Regions from separate parts of the Homo sapiens genome. Here regions 1, 2, 3, 5, 6 and 7 are each linked to region 4. Evidence: promoter capture Hi-C in 16 types of primary human blood cells and fetal thymus (Javierre and others, 2016). All regions are on one chromosome and are shown on one strand. The core of a region is centred on a gene start or on the middle of the fragment in contact, and the rest is flanking DNA. Distances in the headings are between cores, read along the strand shown.

Region 1 (2,700 bases), core at 180-2,679, 910 kb before region 4:
ATGTCCCCAAGCCCCATGTTTTGCTCACGAGGCATGCCACCCTAACTCCCTGCTGCTGGAAATGAGAATATGTCTGAGGGTAACAGATGAACAGTAATAAATGGCTTCCATTTTCTTCATACATTTTTGATGGGCTGACCTCAGAGAACCAATCCCTCTAATGAAGTGGAAGGCATCCTAGAAGTGAGAGCTCACTTGTTTCACTTTCTTATTTGGAAAATGGAATGCTGGCGTGACCCCTTCTTAGCTATTCCTAATGTATTACTGCTCCAAAACACAAAGAGCAGGTTCAGAGATAACTTCTCCTTGCATCATTCGCCTTTTGGTTTTATGTTTGTCTCACAATAACTTTAGATAATGTGCCCTGTTTCTTTTTTTTCCACTGATTCAGCAAGTATTTACAAAGCCCCCAGAACACTGCTAGGTACCCTGCTAGGCTCCAGGGAACAAAAAATTCCCTGCTCTCCAAAAGGAGATAAAAATCAAGTGGGCAGAGAAGCCAATAAACGTGTAAAATGCGTTATCATACCAGGAGGTTATAAATGCTACAAAGAGAAATAAAACAGGAGTATGGGAGATGGGCAGTAACAAAAAGCTCTAAATCCAAACTTTACTACGCTGCTGTCAAAAAAAAAAAATATTCTATGCTCCCCCCAACCCTGTTTTGTTTTTTGTTTTGTTTTGTTTTGCCCTTGCAGCTTGCCAGCTCTAACAATAGCTGCCTTTTAAATAGTAGTCACTCTGAGGGATGAGAAATTACCTAATGGGTCCAAAGGACACTATTTGGGTGGGGGCAGCACTGAAAGCCCAGACTTCACCACTCTGCAATACCTGGAAGCAACAAAGCTGCACTTCTACCTCCTGAATCTAAAAACAAAACTAAAATAAACAATAGATTCTTCACTGCTGACTCCAAGCCCCTTTCTTAGGTTCGGTTTCCTCCCGCTTCTCTGACCAGGCGCTTCCATGGGCTCTGCATAAAAATTCGAAGATGATGGGATCCCCAAATCAGCTAGCAGCCCCACAGCCCTCCCGCCTTCCTCCCCTCTCTCCACGCCTCCCCCAGGCCGGCGATGCCGTCAGGGCCCGTGTCTGAGGCGTCCGGTGGATTCAGCAGAACAAACATCATAAAAAGATTATTTGCGAGAGGAGAAGACGATGCTGTGAGAACTTGGTCCCAGAGACCGTCTCAGAGCAGCAGAAAAACCGCAGGAAACCTAAGGAGCACGACCCTGACGGCGACGGAGGGGGTGCGCGCGGACAGCACTGTCACCTCCCGCCGACGCCAGGGCTCAAATCGGAACGAAGACTGGGCGGCCACAAATGCCGGCTTCTCCTTTCTTTCGCTGAGGCGGAGAAATCGCCCAGCGGTGCCCGGCGCGCCTCCCGCGGAAAGCGGGCGGTGACCATTCCGACAGGCCGTCCGCAGCGCTCCCTTTCCGCAGACAAAGCTGCCTCGAAAGGCGCTCCGCGGCTCCCGAGTCACCACGTTCCATTCGGCAGAAGAAAGCGAAAGCGGCCGCTCCCTGTCAGGCAGCCAGACAATAGCGGCGGGCAGGCCGCTCCACGCCAGCATCTTTGTTTCCCTCGCGCCGGGAAACGAAGTCTCCGGATACCACAGAAACCAGAAGCCGATACCACAGAAACCAGAGGCCGCTCTTCCCGCTCGGACGTTTACAGCGGGCGGGAGCGTGGCGGCCACCTCCGTCTTGGGGAAGCGGCAGGTTGAGCCCCGCACCTTGCTGTGCCCTCTAGAGCGAGCGGAGGAAGCAGGCGAAAAGCTGCTGCGAGATGTTGCGGCCTTGCAGACGTCTCAGCTCCTCCCGGCACGGCGGCCTGGTAAGGCGGGAAGTAGCGCCGGCCCCGCGCGGAAGGAAACGTGCAGCGCGATGCGGCTTAGCGCGGCTTTATAGAGCCGAGGCTTTATAGAGCCGCGCCCCGGCGACCCCTGCGGTGACTGCTGTCGGTCCGCGTTGTGTGTGTTCTCTGTTTCGGCCTCCGCTGCCCGCTGCGGCCTTGCCCCTGCGCCTCGGAGTAGCCGCCGCGGGCCTGTCTGCTGGAGCAAGGAGACCCGGAGGCCGTCCCAGGGGCGAGGGGGTAGCGGCCCCGGCCTCTTGGGCCCTCGGCCTCGCGCCCACCGAGCCCTCTGCCCGGGTTTGGTTGGGTGTGGAGCTTGCGACGCGCCCACTTCCTGGGCTGTGCTTCTGCCCGAGCTGATGCCTCGCCGCGACGCCAGGCCCTATCTTGACAGCGGGTGCCAGCAGGTCCAGGCCTACTGACGGGCGGAAGTCGGCCCGGTGCCCCCTCACACGCCCACACGCCGGGCGTGCCTCAGTTTCCTCTATTGTGACAGAATAGAGATGAGACGATGCAGGTTAAAATTACCTACCGGCGCATAATGAGTTCTCCAGCATCTAGCTAGTTCTACCATAGGATTAATACCCAAAACCACGTGGGTGGAGCTGAAAAACACGATGCTGTGGGGGGAAGAACCCAAAAAGCCATAGTCGGTCTGATGTCCATTTATAGGACATTCTAGAAGAAGCAACAGTGGCGATGCAAAGCAGTTGCCTGGGAAAGGAGTGGAACAGGACAGAATGGAATGCACAGGAGCGGGGGAACTTTGGGGCAGTGGTGGGACAATTTCATATCTTAATAGGAGCGGCGGCAACATGACGTATACAGTCGCCCCAAATCATC
Region 2 (2,700 bases), core at 177-2,676, 930 kb before region 4:
ATCTTCCGGGATTAGAAACACATGGAGCAGGAATCAGGCAAGGGTCGTGACAGAGACGGCAGAATGTCTCTAAATATTATTTCTGACAATACAAAATCAATTTACATTTAATACATTTTAAAACAGCCAACCTACCCATATGATTTGATATTACAAAGGAGAGCTGAAATGGAATCTTAATGTGGTTTGTAAGCATATTCAGCAGAGGTTTATTATTTCTAAAAATGCTTTGTGTAATCATAGTACTTTATCGTTGAAATTGCCAGGTTTTGTGATACAAATATATTAGATTCATAATTAAAATGCTGTTGTCTATTAATGCCGCCACAGCATTTTCCCCAGGCAGACACTTAAAAAAAAATCCTATATACTTTCAAGGATGAGTGATCTCCTCTTTTAGGAGAGATTCCTCCCTCCACATGCTTTATTTATTAATACGATCAATTCAGGGAAGAATAAAGCATCCTCAGAATGAGACTAATGAGGCCTAAGAGCACAAAATTGACAATAGTCATCACCTTGGCCCAATTGTGAAATAGTCTCTCCAGACTACCCACTCTTCTGTAGTTTTAAAGTGGTATTGATTTCTAAGGCTCATCAAACAGTGTTTTCAGAGTAATCATAGAAAAAAAAAATAAAGATACAATGAAAGTTATTGTTGTTGTTTTCTGGGCATGGTGGCTCACACTTATAATCCCAGCACTTTGGGAGGCTGAGGCAGGAGGATAGGTTGAGCCCAGGATTTTGAGATCAGCCTGGGCAACATAGCAAGGCCCTGTCTCTATAAAAAACAAAAAAATATTGCTGGGCATGGTGGCATGCTCCTGTAGTCCCAGCTACTCAGGAGGCTGCGGTGTGGGGTTATCGCTTGATCCCAGGAGTGCAAGGCTGCAGTGAGCTGTGATTGTGCCACTGCACTCCAGCCTGGGTGACAGAGCCAGACCCTGTCTTCAAAAAATAAAAAAACCTGAGATGAGGAGGTTGAAGAGGAGAGAAGCATCATCAGGGCAGGAAAGCAGCAGTTCAAAGGCCAGAGGCAGGATGCACTGGAGAGCAGGCCAGCCTGATAGAAGCAGAGCAGTGCAGACGTGGAGGGGGCACAGCTGGGAATTGCCTCAGATGTCTTAAGGCACTGAACAGCCACTGAAGGAGGGAGTGGGGCTGTCACTAGAAACACATTTTATACGCACATTAAAAAAAAATACTATAGTTGCTGTTGTAGTCTGTACCCTGTGTCATGTCCTGCTCTTCTCCTAGCTGTATATCAGAAACCTTTTCAATGTGTTCATCAGAGCCACTGTTAGTTACAAAATGGTAAGTCATTCAACCATTCCCTTATAATCAGATATTTAGACTTTGTTGAATAATTTTGATTATTATAGAGTAATGCAAGTAATTTTGTACTTAATACCCTTCTTCCTATTTAAGAATAATTCTGTGTCAGGATATGTTCCTAGATGTCACACCAGCCAGAAGTGACAATATCCATTTCCTTGACTATTTGATGGGTGAAAAAATCATTATCTTCTAGTTTCAGTTTACATTCCTTCAATGACTAGTAAAATTGAGTAGGTCTCCATATTTTGTGACAAGTATTATTAGGGCAAAAGATAAAGTTATAAAGTAATTTAGGGAACACATAAAGAGAATTTGGTATTTTATACCGCAGTAAACCTGTGGTATGTGCAGACCAGTGAAACCATTTTAGATTAGGCTACGGTTCTTTAATAAAGCTACATTTTTTAAAATCACTGTCTTCTCTAAAGGCTAAATAAATTGTTCTCTGAAAGAAAGGCATTAACAAGCTAATAAAGTATACCTATAGACATGGATGGAGAGTGAAATCCAGTATCTATATGGCTTAGATACCAGATTAATCTGTTTATATGGCGTAAGCACAAATCTATGCCCAAATCAGTGTCCAAGTATCCGCGAACCCGCCTAGTCTACCAATAGAAACACAGGCTCAACTTCTTTTTTATTGAGCTCAGGATGTATCTGTAATGATCTCATGGAGGGTGGCTTTTCAAGGAACTCCGGGTGGTTGTAAAATAGTGGCTTCACTGAACCACCCAACACAGGAAAGCTATGTTTTTCAGCCCATTAGGAAAAACCCCAAATCAATTTACAGCTGTATTCAGGAAAAGCTCAGAGCAAGATTGCTGAAGGAATTCACTTCAAAGGCCGAGTTCTAAGAGGGATCTTTTTCTCCCTCCAGCTGCCTCCAGGATAGGACCCTACTCTTAAAAGATTTGTTTGAAATTTACGTAAAATCTGGCTGGTTCTCCAGGCAATAATCACAGCCACTGAGGAGAGGTCAGGCCTCTGATGGAGCACACGCCTGAGGTCTGACTGCCTGTATAAAATGCAAAGATGACAAAAAAGGTTCTGGTATGAGTGGAACCATCCTTCTTTCTGAGGGTTGTTTCCGGAGGCCACCTGTGGAGGGCCAGCATTGGGAGGCCCCAGCAGAAGTAGAGGTGGCCCCTGGCCGGCACATCCAGTAGAACCCAGGGCTGAGGTTGGTGGTGGATACCTGTAGTTCTAGCTACATAGAAGGCTGAAGCAGGTGGATTCCTTGAGCCCAGGAGTTCAAGGCCGCAGTGATCTATGATTGCATCACTGCACTCCAGCCTGAGTGACAGAACAACATCCTGTCTCTAAAAATAAAAAAAAAAAAAAAGATAAAAATAACCAGTC
Region 3 (2,700 bases), core at 121-2,620, 890 kb before region 4:
ACATACTTTTCAAAAAGTAAAGCTTCATTTTGTTTAAAGAGTTTTATGTCAAGAAACATTTCATAGCATAAATTTTCCACAATGCATATGATCAAATTATAACACCCATCTGAACACTATTAAGTATTTTATTACTTTGTTTAGTGCTGTTTGATAAGTATGAAATTATCTATGAAGTGAAAATTTTCAACTAGGAAATTTGACATTCCAACAATATCTGAGGTGGTTTTAACCCAGATAAACTAATTTCTGTCATTACCAACACATCTAAGAAAAACAGCCCTAATGAAGAAAGATAAAAACTACTTTTATTTTCTCCAATTAAAAGATTCATAAGACAAGCTGTGTAGGCATGAAAGAAAGAAAGGAAAGCTACAAAACTGGGAATACAAATTACATTTTCCTATTCAACAGGTCAAAGAAATTGCTGCAAGGAAACAAAACAGGCCCAAGGAAGTATTAAAAAAAAATGAAATAACCAACAATCTTAGCCGGATATAAGGCAAAACAAAATGAGGTAATCTCGGGTATTATGAAGTTTTAAAAGACACAACAAAGTTATGCACTGTTAGGAAATAATGATGACAGAGATGAATCCAGAAAATACAAAAAACAAACGGGTAGCTCCTTTTGCATGAAAAAAATAAAAAAAGAGAGAGAGAGTCAAAGAAGGAAACCTGAAAACAGAGTCAGACTGGAAACACTGTGGCCTAGGGGCTGTGTGGGTTATCATTCACCTCCTCCAGGAGAGAGCAGCAGAAGTAACATCCCTTTAAAGCAAAAGACACATACACAGCAACTAACCAAGACCCATAAATCCAATCACATATTCCCCAAGGTCAGCAACACACTGGATAGGAAAAATGAAAAGGACAATTCTAATGCTGTTTTTATTTAAAATTTTATTGAAACCCTCTTTCACCCGTTTACCACTTCCTAAGTAAAAATGCATGTAAACTCTGAGCCTGATGGTATTAGCTTCAAACTATTCCTTAAATACCTGAAAATGTGACTTTTGAAACTTGGGAAAGTGACGTTAGGACAAGGATCCATTTTACATGCCTGCTTCTTTGTTCATTCATGAGCAGAGCTAGACTAAGAAACCTTTCAATGAGAGGGAGAGCATGTATGCAGGAGTATAACTCTCTATTCTGAATTCTACCCTCGCTGGGCCCATGAAAGGTAAGGAACACTTTAGATAGGGTGGGGAAGGAGGTTTGGAAAACTTGTGATAAAGAGGAGTAAATTTTTCCTAAATTCTTAGTAAAACCTAACAGGTTACCCACAGAGTCCGTGTCTTAAGTTAATGCACTTATATAACTAGCATCAGAGTCTCCTTCAAGTGCCCTGTATATCTGTCATCAGTTTCCTCCTTCAAAGATTTCTCTTGTGTATACTACTATATAGTTAGCAAGGCCAGCTTTCCTTGCCTATGCCTATGACAAATTGGCTAGAATAATTTAGGGTTTTTGAATGCCATCTCTTAACTATATCTCATTGGAGGTGTCTGCATGTACGAGTGTGTGTGGTTTTTAACAGAATAACAAAATGCCTTAAGGCCCTTTAACGTGTTTTTAAAATCTACCTGTAGAACAAATCCTATGCATGCGAATGACCATGAATAGTTCCTCACATATTCAAGCTACGAATGTTTAAAGTATTACATAAATTTAGAAAATATTATCTAAAGGTATTTCCCATTAAATAAATCTAGAATATACTTAGTTCAAATATTTAGAAGGATTTAATTACTGTTACTCAAAACTACTCTGCTGTGAATTTGAGTATCACAATATAACTTTGCTCAGTTATTAAGTGGTTGATAGCTGTCCACCCTCTGCAGAAGTGTATCTGAATATCCAGGGGAATAATACCTGAAAAAGAAAATACACTATTAAATGCTGGTGAAACGATCAACACAGCAGGCACATAAGATTCAATATAGGGGATTTATCTGAAATAATCCTGTGAGTGAAATCTCAAATACACTCTGAATAATTATGCTCCAGTAATGCTTTGTGCATAAAGTTAGAGGCTATCCAGGAGGAAAATACGAATTCATAAAACTGTGCTACAGAAGTAGCAAAACATTTAAGGGATATAAATGTAATGGCAAAGGGGACATTTTCCAAACAAGAATCTTCAATCCACTGACAATATTTTATTACAGAGACTTCATTTTAATCACATCAAGTGGCTAATGTTGCTTTAAGGATCCTAGCTAATAGATTTTTTTTTTCATAAGTTAGACTACACAGTCTATTGTTACTAATCAACTTCTGCATTCTAACTGCCTTAGAGATCATTCTCAGCATGGGTTTTAATCAGATCTGGTCACCTAGGAAAACAAAAATTTCTGGAAGTATAATTCATATTGAAAAACTATTTAATAAAATATAATTTAGTATTGAAAAACTATTTACAAATACTTGTATCATAGAAACCTAGGAAATTAATCATTTTTACTATTAATAGTTCTTGGGCATCTATAGTACTATACATTTACATTCATAAATTGAACATTTTATACAAGATTTAGTATAAAAGTATTAAATATGTTGATCAGTGCATTGTGAGATGCTTAATACGTCATGGAAATAACTTACATGCAGATAAATGAATGTCAAATAAAATTTAGCAGGCATTCTAGAATAATTTTTTAAATCTATGGAAGTATAATTCAAAAATTCTCAAAACACT
Region 4 (2,700 bases), core at 27-2,526:
CCCAAATCTAGAAGGAAATACAGCAAACCCTAGAACGCTTTTAACCCTTAAGACATCTTGTATTAAAAGAAAAAAAAAGCATGTATGTCTTAAAACCGGCCAAAGAACCATCTCCTCGCTCTTTATTTCCTCCTGTAAATGCTATTATTTTAAACTCTCCATTTTAAACTCGTCCTTCGGACGAGAGGGCAGAGAATGTGCCCGGCAGCACGCAGCAAATCAGAGGTTTTATCTTACGCCTCCTGGGACTGGGAAAAAAAGTGGAACGTGGCCGAGGGAGCTTCCAGGGCAGAAAAGCGACACAATTCGCTGGGGACGCCGCTGGGCCAGGCCAGGCGGGGGAGGCGCGGCGGGGGCGTCGAGGGCTCTCGGGCTCCGGGCCGGGGCGCCGCTGCGAGGAGGGGAGGCGGTTTTAAGTCATGGGGGCTGGGAGGGCGGCGGCGGGTCGGGCGTGACGAGACTTTCGGAGGCAGGATGGGGCGGCGGTGGAGTTGCCTGGGCTTTCTCAGCACCCCCCCCAACACACCCAAATAAAAAAAGGAAAGTTAGAAGGAGGCGGAGAGGAGGACAGCCATCCCCATTTCCTCCCCGCGACGCCGCGGAAGGGCTGGGGCCGCTGCGAGCAGAGAGAGGGCGCGGGATGAGGCGGGCCAATCGCAGTCAACAGGTCCAGGCCTCAGTGGGGCAGCTGAGCCGGGAGGCCGGCGCCCCCTCCCCTCGGCTCCCCGTCCCTCCCCTCCCTCGCAGGCCCGGCGCGGTAGGGGAGGCCCGGCCCGGCCCTCCCCGCCCCGCGCGGACTCGCTGCGGCCGACTCCGCCGGGGCAGTCGGGGTGGGGGTGGGGCGGGGGTTCCCCGCCGGAGAATCCTCCCCCGGGGCTGGCGGCGGGGGCGGGGAGCGAGAGCCGGGAATGGAGGATTAGGAAGGACTCCAGCTCGGCACGAGCGCGGCCCGCGCGAGGGATCCTGGGTAAAAAGTGGCCGCGCGGCACCGGAGAGCGCGGAGAGGAGCCGGGGTCAGGGGTCACGGCCCTGGAGCCCCGCGTGCAGAGCCCCCCACGTGAACGCAGCGAGCAGGAGGAACCTTTTTGTTTTCGACCGCGCCAGCATGCTCCCCTATTGACCGAGCTGCTTTTCCTGGGCTGCTGGGGAGAGGAGCTCCATTGCGGAGCTCTTAACCCCACCCCCACCTTCCACCGCCAACACACTTCCCAACTCAACCCTTCCTCTCAACTCTCATCCCAGCCCCCCGTCCTGAGCTTGCAATAACGCAGTAAATTTGCTTTAACAACAAGTGGGGGTGGTTGAATTTACTCCTCCCTCTCCTCTCTCCTCCCCTTCCTCTTGCTGCGGTTCTTGACACTACTACAAACCAGGACTATAAACATAAACATGTGTCACTGTAACAGGGCAGGTAATATACGGATTTTGAGGCGGGGTGGGGTGGAGCGGGGCTTGGTCGCCGCTTGGAGGGCAGTAAAAAGTCGCGTTTCACGTGCTCGACGGCTTTGGGGACTCCCGCACACATCGATCCGTTTATATAATGCCGAAGGCACTTGGTCACTTATTCAGCCACGCAGACCCACAAAGCCAGACTTGCGGATAACCAGCGTACCCCAAAGCAAATGCATTTCAATACGAATCCCTCTCCTTTCCCAGCCAGTGCTGCCATTTCTTCTATTAGCAAACAGTAACGTGATACTTGAATCCCCTTTCCTTTTTAAAAATTCTTTTCCAGATAGCCATGAGATCATTTTTCGACCTAAATAGTACATCTCTCCCATAGCCACTACCTACACATTTTGTGCGCAGAAACCCCTTCAAACAGCAAGAAAGTCTATTTAAATGACTGAGTTCGAAATCTGGTGTGCAAAGGGTATTTCTTGGGCTTTGCCTCCGTGCATTGAGCAACTTCTGCTGCAAGTTGCTGACACTGGCGCGGTGGAGATCCGCCACAGCAAGCCTTTTTTATTATTATTTAGTCTATATCTGCCTCTCAACTTTTTTCTCATTCTTAGTTCAACAAGCCAGCAACCACTACTTAAGGTAGAGTAAAGCGAATCCCTTCCCAAGCTTTTTGGCTTGAAACGGAGGGAGATACAGAAAATGTTCAGATGGGGAAGTGGTTCCCTTTGTTCTTTCATTGTTTCTCTACGAACTGGTGGATACAAGGACAAACACTTACCTTCTCTTCTTTTTGCTCCACAAACCAGACGTTCCCATCAGCCTTAAAATACACAATCCACCTTGAAAGTAACTACGGATGTCGGGAGAGTTTGTATTCCATTCTTTTTCGCTCTCTGCCCTCTTTTAGCGTAGGATTAAGTTGCAGAGCACGTTGCTGCAAGCTGTAGCCCCCCCCCCCCCCCGCCTTAGTGAATCGGTCACGTTTAGGACCCTCTAAGTCCATCCTAATTCTGCCAGTAGAATTGAGGGTATTGGAGCTCTAAACTTTCAAAAGGAAAGGGGCCTGCAACTCTCCAGAAAACTTACAAATACCCCGAAATTTTTTACCATTGTGTTTTTGCACCACATCACCAAATAGTATTTGCCAAGAAATAATAGATATGTCTTTGAGAAAAAAAAATTTTTTTAAGTTTATACTTAGCAATGCGCTGCTTAGACAGATGTAGTAAAAGGCAGGTTTGTATCGGCATTTAACGGAATGAGTGCGTTTTCCATAACGTTTGTTGTGCCATGTGT
Region 5 (2,700 bases), core at 62-2,561, 950 kb before region 4:
CTCTCCAAAAACCGATTATAGCCCAGTGTCTCCTGTTGACTCCATGGTGATGGTGATGGTGATGGGTGTGGTAGCAAAAGCCCCAAGACAGACACAGAAGACCCCCATTCTCTCTATGTGGCCTAAGCCTAATTGCTTAACCTCTCTCAGCCTTAGTTTCTTCATCTTTAAACGCAGATAATAAGGATTTGTCATAAGGAACCAGCAAAGATTCTGTCAGATCTGAAGTCCCATAACAACAAAGGGTGTTTCGTTGTGATTTCTGCAGCAGCTCCAGCTGTTGGGGGAAAATCACTCAGCAAAGCTCTTGTTTGGTCCAGTTCTCTGTGGCACCTCGAGGCAAGACTCAGCCAGCTGGTGACAGACACAGCAGCTTTCTGGGCCCTGTTCTAGTATTGCATCATCTGGGGAGGGGTAGGGTGAGGCTGAGCTAGCAGAATTCAAAAACAGCTTTCAGACTTTTACTGCCAGAGAAGACCAGGAGTTGTATGTACGGTTTCCAAGAGACTATTTGGTACGTGACTTTGATCTTTATCAAGCTAAAAAGGGTAATATAAAATACAAAAACAGCAGATTTGTGTGTATATGTGGGTGAGTGTAAGAGAGAGAAGAGAGACAAAGTTGGGTGGGCAGGGGGGGAGAGAGAGAGAGAGAGAGAGCACCCAGGATTGTCATTAGCAAAGAACAATTTTTAAACGCCTATCCCAGCCTTGTGCAACCCTTCTTGGTTGAGATGAAAGAGTTTCCAAGACATTCCAAGAAATACTCCCACTAGCTGATTTCCAGATGCCATCTTGTGCTCCAAAGGGACAGGAGGACTTTGTGGCTGCCTGGCTCCCACCACTGCCTGCCTCCCACACCAGAGCAGAAAGAAAAGTGGGACAGAACACATTTTACTCCATGCAAGCTCGAGGCCTGATTCTAAATGAAGTGGCTTAGCTCAACGGCCCTTTAGAGAAGGTCAACCCCACGTGGTCTTCATGTAGCTCTGGGTCCTTTAATACTTACTGAATAGCTGCTGGGTGCAGGTATAATAAGTAAAACCCATACCTGCCCAAATGCCCACTGCTGCCATCCTATTGTCTTGCTGCTCCTGCCCTCAATGACCCCCTCCTCCCAGGCGACCAACTTCTGCCCATCAGGCAGGCTCCTTCCCCACCCAGGTGACCTGAGTGCTAGACTTGGGGTTGGGCCGGGGAAGAAAAGCGAAGATGCAAACCACAGTGGTTTTATGAGAGCAGCACTGACCTGCCATCTGCCCACCAAAATGGCTGTCCCCAGCTCTGGGCCTCAGTTAACTATTTGCTGCCAGAGCCTTGAGCCTATGTTAATTATACAGGAAACTTTGATTTAGCAAAAAAGTTGATCTTGCCTCGAGTGACCTGCAGAAACTGCCCACAAGAGCTACAGTCTTGAAGTAGCCCAGGTGGATTTCTTGTTTCTCATGTCAGTAGAAGGTTAGCAATCATGAAACTCTGTGACCATCAGTCTGATCACTGGCAATTTCAGGTTGTGGAACGCTTAGTTTCTTTTAATTGGGTCTGCATTCTAAATTGAAACATAATTAGAGGTAATTTAACTTCTTTGGGTGCTTTACCTGAATCCTTATTTTGCAATTTGAACTTTCCTCTTGTAATTTAAGTGGAAATATATCAAGTAAACAGACAGTTATGTATTTAAATAACCATCATAATCCCCAGGAAGTAGACAGCACCTCTGCCTTGGGCAGCGGTTTGCGGGCACACAAGTCTCGAACTGAAATAAGCAGGCAAGACATAATTAGACAGCGCTTCTCAGCCTACAGTGGTGCCTTACGAGTCTGAGCGACCAGGTCTGCGCATGGAGAGCCCGGCCTTCTTAGGCGGCGACAGGTGTGTCCTCCGGACGGGCTCCTGGCCGTCTCCACCAGCTTTCTCGGGCTGAACGCGGCTGGGCTCCCCCAAGGCCTCCCCTTGCTGACGGCTCCACGCCTGCTGGACGAGAAGCGGCCTCCCCGGGGCGTCGCAAGCCCCTGGGACAAGAAGAGGAGCCGACATTGAGGGAGACCTGAGCAGTGGACGCAGGCAGCGTCAGCCTGGGCGTCCCCGGAGTCGCGGCGAGACCCTGGCTCCCCACCACCGCCCGGCTCTCAGCTTTGGCATCGCGTCTCCAGAGAGGGCGGTGGATGACGAGGAACTGCAGCAGTGTACGACCCCCGGGCTCCAGACGACCCTGGGGAGAGCGCGCAGAGTTCCTGGCTAGCGGCCCCCTCGCAGCCGGGCACCCCTTCTCGGCTGCGCGCAGCCACTTAGGGGCACAAGATAAGCCCCTGGGGAGGGAGCGGGCTGCAGGCGCGGTGGGGAAGAACGGCCCGGACGCAGCCGGGCACAGGGAAGGCCGGGCCTGCAGACTGGAGAGACGTGGGCTGCGGTGAAACCGTTAGGGCTGCTTTGCCGCGCACAGACGCGGAGGCCTTTACAAGGCCGGCAGGCCTCGCCCAGGGCCTGGGCCGCCGCAGGTGCCTTTGGGTCACACCCGGGGCGAATCCCACCCCCTCCTGGGGCCGCTTCTGTTTACCAAACCCCTCAGGCTATTGCGTTAGTTGTGCGGGGGAAGGATAGAGGCAGGGTCCTCTGGTGGAGGGGAGGGAACTGGGGACCCGGGGCTGCTGGGGACGCAGGCGACAGAATGAAAGGCGAAGAGGCGGCAGCTCGAATCTGT
Region 6 (2,700 bases), core at 105-2,604, 780 kb before region 4:
GAGAAGTGTCACAGAAAGCTTATTTAGTGTTTATTTTCTGTGACACAATCCAAGATTCTTTTAGCTACAATGAATTCAACTAAGCTTCATTAGTAAGGCTTGGAAAAGACTGAAAGATCATCTGTTTTGTCCAGAATCTAATCAGTTTCAAGATGTCCTACATTTAGACTACAACAGCAGAGAATGTCTAACAGAGTCTCTTCGTTTTTTAGGTCTGGATTTGGAATCTCTGTGTTTTTTCATACCTTAGAAATTGGAGTTTGGGTTGGTTTCACGAATTCCAGCAAAAAATGGAACAAATGGGCCTATGCTGTGGGATATTATTGTTGAAAGCCAGTAACTTTTTCAAGTTTGTATTTTGAGAACATGCTTTTTACATGTTAAAATGTGTACAAATAAGTATATTTTGTTTAAGGAACTATAATTTTACAAACAAAAATGAAAACAAAAATAAAGGTTTTTGTAGATTAAAACCAAAGTAACAGTATAATTGCTTATAAACTGAAAAATGTAACTATATTCACTTGTCAAATGAAGCATTTTAGAATGGAAGTTAGTATATAAGAAGGGATGATTTGCATTAAATACATTATAAACAGTTAAGGAGACTTTACAGCTAAAGTACTTTTAACTCATTTAAAGTAAGCATTTAAACCAAAATTAATATTTCAAAAGAGCTTACATGGCAATGAAAGCCTAGATAAGTGTTTTAATATTTTTAATTGTGTACAATATTTAAAATGATACTGGTTAAGAATTTAACATTTTGGGCCGGGCGCGGTGGCTCACGCTTGTAATCCCAGCACTTTGGGAGGCCGAGGTGGGTGGATCATGAGGTCAGGAGATCGAGGCCATCCTGGCCAACATGGTGAAACGCTGTCTCTACCAAAAATACAAAAATTAGCCAGGCGTGGTGGCATGCATCTGTAATCCAGCTACTAGGGAGGCTGAGGCAGGAGAATTGCTTGAACCTGGGAGTCGGAGGTTGAGTGAGCCAAGATCGTGCCATTGCACTCCAGCCTGGCAACAGAGTGAGACTCTGTCTCAAAAAAAAAGAATTTAACTTTTCTATTATGGTTGTTATATTCAACAGAATACTGATTTTATCCCCCTTTTCAAATTAAATATAGACTTGAAGCCATTTTATGGATAAGTCAGTCTAAAAACTACATTTTTAAAAATCCTAGTAGAATAATTGTGTTCAGCTTTTTCACATTTGTTACATAGCTAGAACTATTCAGAAAATACTTTGAATTGTTTATACGTAGCTGATTTTTACACCGTGGTGAATGTTTAGAAAGTAGTTTTACAGAGTTTTGAGAAAACAAGCACCTAAAAAAATAGATTAAACTTTTCCACTGTGTTTCTTCCCATATACTCAGTTTTTCCCTGAACTTTTGTTTCATTGTTTTATTAAGGTTAAAACATAAATGTTTTTCTAACTCTCTCAAATGTTATTTTCAAAATTAATTTTCTTTGTGTAAGCATTTTAATCTATATTTTATGAAAGGGGATGGGGAGGCAAGTTTTATAAAATCTTTTTAATGTAACAAAACACCAAGAAAATAATGACTAGCAACAGGTGAAAGGGAGAATTGTATTTATATAGTCAGTTTAGTCCATGTAATTAGAAACTTGGACCTGAATTACTGGCGTAATTACTCAACTTTCTTTTCTTTTTTTCTTTTTTCTTTTTTTTTAATGCTAACAGAAATAGGCCGGATCATTTAGAGCAGCAGTATTCTAAATCAAAATTAATCAGATAATTGGCAACTTTTATTTGACTTTTAGTGCTCTATAAATTACAGACCAAAAACAGGAGAAATTTGCTAAAGAATAACAATGTAGATGGAAATATGTGGGTAAACAAGGCCCTAAGAAAACTGAATTTTCAAATGGTTTTCTTAGAATTTGAAAATGAAAGAAAATTTTAAATTAGGCCTAGCTGTGATATATAGGTGAGTAGTTGATAGATCTATAAGAAAACTTTTATTTTTGCTTAAACAATAATTAAAATGTTTATGAATTGAAATAAAAAATAGTTTTATAAGACCAAAAGTATCAATAAAGACATACATATTTTGTTTTATAAGTTTCAATAGCAATATACATTCTTCTTTATAAAGAACTTTCAACAGTGTATACTGGAAATGTTGGAAAAAAATTGATTTTGCACTTGTCAATTATAATAGAAGGAAAATAATATTCTTACATATGTTTTTATATACTTTTGAAAGTTGCCTTAAATTATTTTTGTAGCAAGATGAACATAAATAAAAATATAAAATACAGATGTTTAGAAGTCAGTTTAACCAATAATTAAAGTGCTTCTAGAAACCTAAAAGAGTGTTTTCAAACGAATACTTTTAAATTAATTTTAATTTCATTTTGGTTTTATTCTATTTCTAAAAGTTGCTATGATCAATATTTGTCTGTTTGTAGAAACTATGACATCTATGATGACAAATGTTCAAACTGAGTCATAATGATAGTCTGTTAGGTTAAAATCAAGAGTCACTACAGGAGAGTAGTCATTTTGCAAACATCCTGCCGTGTTAACAGGGGTTGGGGGAAAGCATATGTCATAAAGTAACAGACTTAAATCTTTAGCTAAGTAAGCTTTAAGTATCTGTCCATTGCTATAAATAGTATAAAGACAATCTAACTGTGTTTGCTTAAGCTTTTTATCTTAGCTTTCTT
Region 7 (2,730 bases), core at 194-2,693, 830 kb before region 4:
AGCATGTTAAATGGTTCTCTAGTTTGTGTGAATAAATGTCTTATATCCTCAGTAAAATAATAAACCTCTCTAGGCCAGAGCTTGTTTTAAACTTCTTTTCTATTCTTCAAGTGACCTAGCATAGGTAATTTGTAATTTGTTCTCAATATACAGCTAGCCCAACACTTGTGCTAATGGACCTAGAAACTACCATCCACTTTGATTTTAATACTACAACCATTACATATTCTCCTGTTACAGTGTAAGTCTAATTATACTTATCATCCTTACTCTAATAGATTTTTTAATATTTCTGTAACAAATTATGATATTTATATGATGATTTTTACTGAACCAAGTTTCACAACACTGATGAATTGTATAACATGTTCTCATTTCCTTCACTGGTCATTTTTTATTTAAAATTATTTGTGTTCCTCCCCTGCCTTTTTTTAGAATAAGAATTTTCAGGCCTTGATTTGGTTTCTCCCAGCCTTTATTGATTATATACCTCTGGCCATTGTTCCTGCATTTGATTAAGAAATTACAAATTTTGGTATCACATATCTGTTTGCCTTGTTTTCTTGAAATACTTTTTCAGACATAAAGTCAATTGTGATTTAGGGTGTTATCCCTTATAACACACAAAAAGTCTTGTAATTTATCTAAAGTGTCAGATTGAATCACAAAAAGTATGGCCTTTTTACATAGAATTCAATTGTAATAGTAAATAATTCAAGAAACTATTATGAGCAAGAATAATCTGTTTTCTCCTTTGAAATTTATTCTCATTAGCTATAGTATCTTCCAAGTTTTGTTTGGTGATTCAGTGTTGATTCAGTTGTTTGTGAGTAAAGGACTACCATATCTGATATATCATTTTTTAGTGGAAGGGCTGAGAGGAAGGTGGGATGGGGACCAGCACATCATAAATTCATTCACTTATTTAGCAAACACTTATATAGCATTTCCCATGTGCCAGGTACCTCTCTAAGAAATTTACAAATAGTAACCCATGTAACCCTCATTACAATCCAATGAGGTAGATGCTCTTCATGGCTCGCGTCTATGCTCTCCGGTTTCTCCTCCCTACTGTCTATTACAGCCCATTTGCCAAGAAAAACTGGCCTATGTGCCAGGTTTGGAATGTATACCAAAGGGTATATAGTCTGTTGAATTCACATTATTTCTACCATTAGCATTAATCATAACTGTCTTCCATTGTTACTGTATGAAACCAAAATTTAATTCATTTTTCTAGTGCAACTGTCTGACTCTTTTTTTTTTTTTTTGAGACGGAGTCTCGTTCTGTTGCCCAGGCTGGAGTGCAGTGGCGTGATCTCAACTCACAGCAACCTCCGCTTCCCGGATGCCTCAGCCTCCCGAGTAGCTGGGATTACAGGCGCCTGCCACCACACCTGGCTAATTTTTGTATTTTTAGTAGAGATGGGGTTTACCATGTTGGCCAGGCTGGTCTCGAACTCCTAACTTCAGGTGTTCCACCCAACTCAGCCTCCCAAAATGCTGGGTTACAGGCGTGAGCCACCGTGCCTAGCCAGCTGTCCCTTGATTAGGTCCCAGCCACCACCATCTGTCTGTGAGATTCTCAACTGAGTGAGAATGTAGAACATGAAAGCTATGCGAAGTTGGATTTGCATTATACTCCAGATAAAATGATTGGAACTTAACATATTTACAATTACATGAGGAAATATAAAATGGGCTTTTAATATAGTTTTCAAATTAACATGTTAGTTCCACATATCCAAATCTTTCTTTCCAGCTATCTGTCTCCTGAGCCCTAGCACTCTACATCACCACAGTCACTGACGCATGGATATCTCAGACACGCTTCAACCACTGAAGAGTAAAATCACAATTTCTCTCTGCTCTTTGCATCCTTTCTCTACAGATGAATGGTGCTAATGTGTCCAAGCAACCAGAAGTCCAGGAGGCATCTTGAAGTCATCTCTCGCCTTACCTGCCCCAACCCCTACTCCTAAGTCACCAAGTCCTGCAGATGTTACCCCTTTAACATTTCTTATCAAACATGACTGCTATAGCAAAAATGAGCACCCAGTCTCCTGATCCTGATTTAATCCCCTCTTATCTACTCTCCAAAAGACTGCTAAAATTGCCTTTCTAAAACACAAAGTGGATCCCATGACTCTTCCAATTAAAACACTTCAATGGCTTTCCATCAATTCCAGGAGAAATCTAAACTTCATACGAGGCCCTTCATAATTAGACTTGTTTCTTCTCCAACCATGACTGACTCTCCTCTCCTTGCCCTATTACCCTGAGCTCCAGTCATAACTAAACATTGGCCTTTTCCATGAGTACCACCTTTTCTCTTGTCTTTGTGCCTTTACACATAACGTTCCCTCTACCTGAATGCCATTTTATCTGGCTAACTCCTAGGAAATTCAGCACAGTATCTGTGTGATTATATACCTCCTCCTAGATGTCTCCCTTGAACGATATCCCTCATTCCCAAATCTTGAGTAAGGTGCCCTTCGAATAAACAATAATTTATTTATATGTCTTTCCATTAGCAAATAAGCCACTTAAGCACAGGGACTATGCCTCCGATTTTTGCATGGTCCGCATCTAAACATCCATCTGATACTTGGACACTCAATAAATGTGAATAGAATAATGAATAAACCAGCTGTGGAAATTAATGTGCAATTTTCTCTCTTTTCAGGTAAATTTTAGTTAAAATAAAAGCAAAATGGGTAATATTGTGTT

The links. Contacts are between HindIII fragments. The CHiCAGO score rates a contact against its expected background, and 5 or more counts as called.
Region 1: a fragment that was not itself captured here is called in contact with the fragment with the promoter of SKIDA1 in region 4 in 8 of 17 cell types (total B cells, naive CD8 T cells, M2 macrophages and 5 more); the score reaches 10.6 in total B cells.
Region 2: a fragment that was not itself captured here is called in contact with the fragment with the promoter of SKIDA1 in region 4 in 2 of 17 cell types (naive B cells and total B cells); the score reaches 5.9 in naive B cells.
Region 3: a fragment that was not itself captured here is called in contact with the fragment with the promoter of SKIDA1 in region 4 in 3 of 17 cell types (naive B cells, total B cells and non-activated CD4 T cells); the score reaches 7.3 in naive B cells.
Region 5: a contact is called between a fragment that was not itself captured here and the fragment with the promoter of SKIDA1 in region 4, in 2 of 17 cell types (total B cells and naive B cells). The highest score is 17.4, in total B cells.
Region 6: a fragment that was not itself captured here is called in contact with the fragment with the promoter of SKIDA1 in region 4 in 6 of 17 cell types (total B cells, naive B cells, activated CD4 T cells and 3 more); the score reaches 20.8 in total B cells.
Region 7: a fragment that was not itself captured here is called in contact with the fragment with the promoter of SKIDA1 in region 4 in 2 of 17 cell types (total B cells and naive B cells); the score reaches 15.8 in total B cells.

Annotation. Positions count from the first base shown.
Region 1 is chr10:22,436,190-22,438,889 of GRCh38, reverse strand. LINC03027 (long intergenic non-protein coding RNA 3027) reads left to right here and starts at 961. Exons shown (of 1, transcript NR_036533.1): 1 at 961-2,700. LOC105376449 (a long non-coding RNA gene) reads right to left here and starts at 1,815. Exons shown (of 4, transcript XR_001747392.2): 1 at 1,739-1,815. RefSeq lists enhancers at 546-1,046, 1,054-1,213, 1,047-1,547, 1,514-1,563 and a silencer at 2,034-2,213. The HindIII fragment of the contact is 6,642 bases long and covers 1-2,700 here.
Region 2 is chr10:22,455,096-22,457,795 of GRCh38, reverse strand. The region is part of intron 3 of LOC105376449 (a long non-coding RNA gene); the gene reads right to left. Among named protein-coding and RNA genes, the nearest start is that of LINC03027, 19 kb to the right of the region's middle. The HindIII fragment of the contact is 3,141 bases long and covers 1-2,700 here.
Region 3 is chr10:22,415,793-22,418,492 of GRCh38, reverse strand. SPAG6 (sperm associated antigen 6) reads right to left here. Exons shown (of 11, transcript NM_012443.4): 11 at 883-1,874. The coding sequence ends at 1,805. Among named protein-coding and RNA genes, the nearest start is that of LINC03027, 21 kb to the left of the region's middle. The HindIII fragment of the contact is 2,691 bases long and covers 25-2,700 here.
Region 4 is chr10:21,524,258-21,526,957 of GRCh38, reverse strand. It overlaps SKIDA1 (SKI/DACH domain containing 1), which reads left to right and starts at 1,276. Exons shown (of 4, transcript NM_207371.4): 1 at 1,276-1,411. RefSeq lists silencers at 252-401, 522-941 and enhancers at 597-1,240, 1,241-1,884. The HindIII fragment of the contact is 4,259 bases long and covers 1-2,072 here.
Region 5 is chr10:22,477,236-22,479,935 of GRCh38, reverse strand. It overlaps LOC124902392, which reads left to right and starts at 1,638. Exons shown (of 1, transcript XM_047426112.1): 1 at 1,638-2,700. RefSeq lists an enhancer at 2,389-2,700. The HindIII fragment of the contact is 4,700 bases long and covers 1-2,700 here.
Region 6 is chr10:22,308,400-22,311,099 of GRCh38, reverse strand. No RefSeq gene overlaps it. Among named protein-coding and RNA genes, the nearest start is that of COMMD3, 6.6 kb to the left of the region's middle. The HindIII fragment of the contact is 2,535 bases long and covers 87-2,621 here.
Region 7 is chr10:22,353,535-22,356,264 of GRCh38, reverse strand. All of the region lies in intron 2 of SPAG6 (sperm associated antigen 6), which reads right to left. Among named protein-coding and RNA genes, the nearest start is that of SPAG6, 9.4 kb to the right of the region's middle. The HindIII fragment of the contact is 9,048 bases long and covers 1-2,730 here.